2 separate regions of the Homo sapiens genome follow, and region 2 is linked to region 1. Evidence: promoter capture Hi-C in 16 types of primary human blood cells and fetal thymus (Javierre and others, 2016). All regions are on one chromosome and are shown on one strand. The core of a region is centred on a gene start or on the middle of the fragment in contact, and the rest is flanking DNA. Distances in the headings are between cores, read along the strand shown. Region 1 holds the start of RBMXL2 (RBMX like 2). Region 2 overlaps TUB (TUB bipartite transcription factor).

Region 1 (3,978 bases), core at 513-3,012:
TCTCTCCTTTGGGCCAATACCAATGTGTAACCTCCATGTATTGACTTATGATTTTGTCTGTAACTTCTGCTTTCCTGAAATTTACATTTTCCTTTAAAAACCTTTACCTGTAAGCCATCATGGAGGTCAGAATTTAAGAGTAGCTGCCTGGTCTTCCTTGCTTGGAGCCCTGCAAATAAATGCCCTCCTTTTTCCTGCTGCAAACCTCAGTGTGGCTATCTGGTCTTATTGTGCCAGGAGAGCATATCTCAGTTAGGTTTGATTAGTAAGTGGCACAAGTGAACCCTCTGGAGTGATGGAAATGTTATAGATTTTAATGTGGGTCATGGTTACATGGATATACACACGTAAAATTAAGCAGTAAACTTGATTTTATAAGTAAATTTATAAACTTAGCATTTTTAAGTTAGCATTCAATAAAAACATTAAGGGCAGTCATTCGAAAAAGTAGAAATAGAAGGCATAACTTCTTCCATAGTGGAGGAAAAAGAAACAAAGACAAATCACTTACTACAAGAAAAGGCAAGAAAGATGGAAAAAAGGAAGAAGGAAAGGTTTGGCTGATAGCAAAGATTTAGGAAGAAATTGCAAAAGTACCGAAAGTTATAAGCATCACACAAAATGGACTAAGGTAAAAAGGTTTTTACGAATAAGGAGGATCATTACATAAAAAAGGTATTCACCAGAAATACGTAGCAATTCTCAATTTTTATATATCTCACAATATAACCTTAAATTACATGAAGCAAAAACCAGACATAAAGACAAAGAGAAATTTACAAATCCACAATTATGGTAAATTTTAAGACAGTTCTAGTGTTTGGCAATTCTATCAAATAAAAAACAAGTTAGAAAAGGGAAGATTTAAATATCAGAAAATAAGAAAGAACTTTGTCCAACATTTAGAGAATACACTTTCTGCTCAGTATATATGGAACATTAATTACACCATATTAGGTCACAAAGCAAGTCTCAACGAAAAACAATGGATATCGTACAGAGCATATTAAAAAATAACCAACAGGCACATATGTTTGAAAATTTACAAACATACTTCTTTAATACATGGTCCAAAAAGGAAATAACAAAGATGAGAAAATCTTAGGAACTGAACAACAATGAAAACAACATATATTACAGCTCAAGGCATGATATTAACCAGTGCATAGAGAATAAGTTTTAACCTTAAATATAACAATTAGAAGAAACATTTTTTAAACTCTTAATGTGCTAAGTGTCTTATTTAAAAAATTAGAACAAAATAATATAAACAATAAATCCAATAAATGTAGAAAGAATAAAGACAATAGCACCAAATAAAATCAAAACAGAGGATAGACGAGGCTAAAAGCTGATTAGTTTAAAAAGATCAGTAAGGTAAAATTTAAACTTGTTAACTGTTATTACTCTATTTTTCAATAATTGAAAAATGATTTTTAACTTAATAATTTTAGTAATTTAAAAAATTCATACTATTTTTTTCTGTTTGAAAATGGTTTGGGTAGCTTAGGTTTGGGATCATTACAATTGTTCTCATTAAAACTAATAGAAAAAAATTTTTTTCCACCTAACGGCTTTTCCCTGAGCTTTCAGGAGGCCATTGAAGCCGTTAAGACCGGGTCAGGTGAACAGGAAGTTAAAGACTGAAAAGGAGACACAAAACTGCCGACTTTCCCGACGGCGAATTGGCCCTCTGGAAACAGCCGACCAATCACAGGCAGCAGGGGCGCGCCCTGCAGCGGGGCTCCGGCTGCGGTTCCGTGGACTCGGCGACTAGGCGCCGCCTGACCAGTAGGAGCCGCCCTCGACGAGCGAGCTCGAAGGCTGCGACTGGCGCCGCCTCACCGCCTCCCACCGCCACTGACCGACCGTTCGACCGGCAAACATGGTTGAAGCGGATCGCCCGGGGAAGCTGTTCATTGGGGGCCTCAACCTCGAAACCGACGAGAAAGCCCTCGAAGCCGAGTTTGGCAAGTATGGCCGCATCGTCGAGGTGCTCCTGATGAAAGACCGAGAAACCAACAAGTCGAGGGGCTTCGCGTTCGTCACCTTTGAAAGCCCCGCAGACGCCAAGGCCGCCGCCAGAGACATGAACGGCAAGTCCCTGGATGGTAAGGCCATCAAGGTGGCCCAGGCCACCAAACCGGCGTTCGAGAGCAGCCGGCGGGGCCCGCCGCCTCCCCGCAGCCGCGGTCGCCCGAGGTTCCTGCGCGGAACCCGCGGGGGTGGCGGCGGCCCGCGGCGTTCCCCATCCCGGGGCGGGCCCGATGATGACGGCGGCTACACGGCGGATTTCGACCTGCGGCCCTCCAGGGCCCCGATGCCCATGAAGCGTGGGCCGCCGCCGCGCAGGGTCGGCCCACCCCCCAAGAGGGCCGCGCCGTCGGGCCCGGCTCGCAGCAGCGGCGGTGGAATGCGCGGGAGGGCCCTGGCCGTGCGGGGGCGAGACGGCTACTCAGGCCCACCGCGCCGGGAGCCGCTGCCCCCGCGCCGCGACCCCTACCTGGGCCCGCGGGATGAGGGCTACTCGTCCAGAGACGGCTACTCGAGCCGAGACTACCGCGAACCCCGGGGTTTTGCCCCCTCGCCCGGAGAGTACACCCACCGCGATTACGGCCACTCCAGTGTCCGGGACGACTGTCCCTTGAGAGGCTACAGCGACCGAGACGGCTACGGAGGTCGCGACCGTGACTACGGGGATCATCTGAGCAGAGGCTCCCATCGAGAGCCCTTTGAGAGCTACGGAGAGCTGCGCGGCGCCGCCCCAGGACGGGGGACACCGCCATCTTACGGAGGAGGAGGCCGCTACGAGGAGTACCGGGGCTACTCACCCGATGCCTACAGCGGCGGCCGCGACAGTTACAGCAGCAGTTATGGCCGGAGCGACCGCTACTCGAGGGGCCGACACCGGGTGGGCAGACCAGATCGTGGGCTCTCTCTGTCCATGGAAAGGGGCTGCCCTCCCCAGCGTGATTCTTACAGCCGGTCAGGCTGCAGGGTGCCCAGGGGCGGAGGCCGTCTAGGAGGCCGCTTGGAGAGAGGAGGAGGCCGGAGCAGATACTAAGCAGGAACAGACTTGGGACCAAAAATCCCTTTTCAACGAAACTAACAAAAAGAAGAACCTGTTGTATGGTAACTACCCAAGGACTAGTACAAGGAAGAGTTGTTTTTACCTTTTAAGAATTTCCTGTTAAGATCGTCTCCATTTTTATGCTTTTGGGAGAAAAAACTTAAAATTCGTTTAGTTTAGTTTTGGAATTGTTAACGTTTCTTTCAACAAGCTCCTGTTAAAAGTATATGAACCTGAGTACTAGTCTTCTTACATTTACAAGTAGAAATTCGATTAATGGCTTCTTCCCTTGTAAATTTTCTTGATAAATGAGGCAAACAGTTCTAAGATCTTTGATAAACATCTGCTCACCTAAAATGGAAAAACGGATCATTCTGCTCATTTAAACCAACTAGATTTTGGGTGGAGAGTGGGAGGGATTGGTGTATGCTACTCTTAAGATTTCAGGGTATCTTTCAAACTGAATCTTTGTTTCCAGTATTAAAAAGCAAACAACCAGCAACAACAACAACAAAAGTGATTTAGATCAAATGTTTATGTAAAGAAAATTATTTTCACTCAGTAAATCTGAAAAGTAAATGGATAATGTTGGCCATGTTTTGCCTTTTTGCTTTTTCTTTGGGAATCTACAGGATCACCTGTCCCCTCACTCCCAAAAGTACTATCTATGTTTTGAACAACAGTGGAATACTATATCAAAGGTTTGGCCAACCAACCACAAAGCTACAAAACAAGCAAATCCCAAATCCTTCAATTGATAGCATTCATTTTCACTACCAACAAATTTATTAAGAAACAAGTAGAAAATAAATCAGTGGTCGACTTGGGGACCGTAATGGCTTCCATTCCTAACTCCAAGCTACTTGCCTTTGGCTCTAGAGCCAGCCACTGAGTCCTGTGGAGAGAAT
Region 2 (3,619 bases), core at 435-2,934, 1.0 Mb after region 1:
AGGCTGCCCTCCCAGGAGCATGAGACACTGCTAGCACGCTGGCAGAATAAGAACACGGAGAGTATCATCGAGCTGCAAAACAAGACACCTGTCTGGAATGATGACACACAGTCCTATGTACTCAACTTCCATGGGCGCGTCACACAGGCCTCCGTGAAGAACTTCCAGATCATCCATGGCAATGACCGTGAGTGTTTCTGTCCCTACTCATTATGGTCCGTAGGATACCCAAGGCCCTTAGCGTAGGGTTCAGCCCACCTAGCCCTGCCTACACTGGCTAGAGTTTAAGAATGTGAGCTATACAGCTAAGGTTAGATGTATGGAACTTTCTAACCCTAATGACTGGGAGGTCCTGGAAGAACCTTCTTTGCAGCCCTGGTCCTAGATTCTGTGTATTCAACGGAGTCTCAGGCACGGGAACACCCTTTAAAAGGACTTTTCCTCTTTTCTGTCCCCTGGTGTTCACATGCATCTTACTTTGTCCTTTGCCATCTGCCACCTCTTTCCTGCCACTTCTCCCAATTGGCCTTTGTTTTACTTCCCTTTGTGATTCCCCTGGCATCTCTGCTTCTCACTTGTTCTTCCCTCATGTGGTTTGGGTGTCTGTCTATCCTTCCCTGGCTCTACCATTCCTGTCCTGTCCTTTTCTCTGTCTGTGCCTGTGCTTGGCCCCAGCGGACTACATCGTGATGCAGTTTGGCCGGGTAGCAGAGGATGTGTTCACCATGGATTACAACTACCCGCTGTGTGCACTGCAGGCCTTTGCCATTGCCCTGTCCAGCTTCGACAGCAAGCTGGCGTGCGAGTAGAGGCCTCTTCGTGCCCTTTGGGGTTGCCCAGCCTGGAGCGGAGCTTGCCTGCCTGCCTGTGGAGACAGCCCTGCCTATCCTCTGTATATAGGCCTTCCGCCAGATGAAGCTTTGGCCCTCAGTGGGCTCCCTGGCCCAGCCAGCCAGGAACTGGCTCCTTTGCCTCTGCTACTGAGGCAGGGGAGTAGTGGAGAGCGGGTGGGTGGGTGTGAAGGGATGAGAATAATTCTTTCCATGCCACGAGATCAACACACACTCCCACCCTTGGGGTAGTAGTGTGTTGTAGTCGTACTTACCAAGCTGAGCAACCTCTTCAGCTGGGAAGGCCGCAAGAGGCATAGAGGGAGAGGAAGCACACTGCAGGGCTGCTGTGGCCCAGTCGTCCGCTCAGCCAAGGAGTCAGATGGCAATGGGTACTCCAGCAGGTAGGGGCACAGTGAATGTGTGTATGTATGAAGGCCACATCAACTTTATGTAGCAAAGGGCTTGGTGGCCAAGCCTGGCCCTTAAACAACTGCAGAAAGCCCTTCAACTTCAGAAGGCCTCACTCAAGCCTGAGAGAAGTTGGGAGGGTGGTGGGGACAGGTAAGTGGCAGGACCCTGTCAGGATTGCAGGTGCCTGGCTTGCTGTGGCTATGGGAATCAGCTGGTGGCTAGGTTTCTAGCGCATTTGATTTCTCCAGGTTTGCTGTGTCTCACAGAGGCAGTAGGAACCCAGCTCTCAGGGCTGTCTTGGTGGATGGGCCCTGCAAGACACAGGCTCAGCATGCAGAAGTGCATGAACAGGGTCCCTGGATCAGGGTTGTTCTGGGAGTCCTGTCAGCTTCCCCAGGAGCTCTCTGCTGAGCAGCCCAGCACAACCCCCAGGAAACACAAATGGGGTCCAGGTCACCAGCCTGACTGCACACAGCTAGGCATGCCTGGGAATCCTGCTGCCAGAGAACCATTCCCAAGCCATGGCATGCTCCTTGAAGAATCTCTCCTCTCTCTCTCTCTCTGGAAAGACCCAACTTTCTCACTGCTGTCAGCCAAGTCATGGTTGGTAACCATGTAGGTTCTTGGGAGGGAATGGGACAGGGTGAATAAAGCAGGGAATATTTTAGAACCACAAGAGATCAGCAGTGGCAGGACCCTTAGGAATCTAGTACAACCTTGTTGCTTTAGGTGAGTCACACTCAGAAAATGGGGCTTGCCCTGGGTCACCTAGCTGGTTAATGGCAGCATTCAGAACTTCAAGTTCTCTTGATTTCTTTGTTCCCACTGTCCCCCAAGAAACTAGTATCTCTGGCCTCCTGGGGGCCCATTCTGCATGCCCTCCCCACTTCCCCCGATTCAGAGACTTAGAAGCATCAGAGTTGATAAATTAGATTGAAACCATTCCAGTAGGAAATCAGGCAGTTCCCTGTTGAAAGTTGTCTGGCTTTTTGCACGTGAGTATGATCCAGGATTGGCCTGTGTCTGGCCCCTCCGCGAGGGCTACTCAGCAGTAAGCAGGCCTTAGTACGGCTGCTGCACACTTCTCGGTCTAGGTGGGAGAGAGTGCATAAAGGTTCTGGGGCTGGGCCTGAGCCTAACTCCCTCCACTACCGCTATTTCTCCTTGGATGGCACCATCCACCCTGCAGGCTTGGGAACTGTAAGCTCAAGCTTTTGCTCATTTGTCATTTACCCTGGTGGAGGCTTCTTGCCCAGATAGAGATCTGAAATTGGTGGGAAGCAAGCAGGGGTCGTACCTTGCTTTAGAGTAGATGTTTGGAAAAGCTAAGTAGAAATTTTTTAAAATAGAAGTTGTATTTTAAACGTGTTAGGCTTTATAGGTGAAGGACTTGTTTTGACTTAAGTAGAAGTAATATGCTCTCATTTCTTTGTAATCTAGATTTTCCTATGTTGAATGCTTAAAGCAAGGCATACCTGTCCTAGCAGGATCTGCCCACACCTCGGCCGTACATCTCTGTGAGAGACCCCCTCCAACGATTAGCTTTTGCAACATGGTCCAGTTTCTAGAGGGCACTAGAACTTTGTGCCAGCGCTGGCGAGATACCATGGTGCCATCCTCCTTTCTATAGTTCCAGTTTAGCCCTTCCCTGCCTTTAAGGAGAAGAGATCTTCATGGTGACATTTGAGATGATGGAAACTAGATCGTCTCTAATGTTAGGTCAAGCTATTTCTCTGGATCTATGATTTTAAGATAGAACAGGCTGGTTCTGAGTTCTGGTGAGACGGAGACCCCGGTGGCAGTGGAAAAATCAGAAGCACAAAGGAAAACTCTTGGCCTCTGCTTTCTCCTGTAGCACAAAGAGGGAGTTGGCTGGATCTTTTGGTGGAGTCAGGAAAGACAGGCTGAGCTTTCTAGCCTAAGTGTGGAGAAGGATAGCCTCAGCCACAAAACTCTGTCAGGCATTGAATGACAAGCATCAGTAGCTGAGTGCACTCCTGGTGATCCTGGTTTTCCTTGACCACTGGCCCTGGGGCCATGGGTGCATGGACTCGTAAAGCTGCTAGGGCCCCTAGAAACCACCTGGGTTCAGCCTCTCCCACAATAAGAGTTCTTGCCCTTCATACCCTCTACCTGGATGGATGGTCTTTGGGCAGGGAATTAATGACAGAATGAGCAGTCCCTAATGGTATTGGGCAGTTGGGAGTGAGTTTAGGCAGCTTCTCTGTAACCGCTTCTGGGGCCACACCCCAAAACTCTACACCCTCTGCCCCAGAACAATTCTGCAGAGTGGTGAAGTTCACTTCCCCAACTCTTCTCCAAGTCTAGCTTTCCTTTCCTTCTGGCTCCAAGGTGCTCTGTGTCCGTCTGTGTAT

What was found. The method cuts DNA at HindIII sites, captures the fragments that hold promoters and counts their contacts. A CHiCAGO score of 5 or more calls a contact.
Region 2: a fragment that was not itself captured here is called in contact with the fragment with the promoter of RBMXL2 in region 1 in 1 of 17 cell types (naive B cells); the score reaches 6.5 in naive B cells.

Annotation. Positions count from the first base shown.
Region 1 is chr11:7,087,236-7,091,213 of GRCh38, forward strand. It overlaps RBMXL2 (RBMX like 2), which reads left to right and starts at 1,763. Exons shown (of 1, transcript NM_014469.5): 1 at 1,763-3,913. The coding sequence starts at 1,886. The coding sequence ends at 3,064. It also overlaps a transcript of NLRP14 not described here. The HindIII fragment of the contact is 13,917 bases long and covers 1-3,978 here.
Region 2 is chr11:8,100,811-8,104,429 of GRCh38, forward strand. TUB (TUB bipartite transcription factor) reads left to right here. Exons shown (of 12, transcript NM_177972.3): 11 at 16-187; 12 at 676-3,619. The coding sequence ends at 809. It also overlaps a transcript of RIC3 not described here. Among named protein-coding and RNA genes, the nearest start is that of TUB, 21 kb to the left of the region's middle. The HindIII fragment of the contact is 1,537 bases long and covers 917-2,453 here.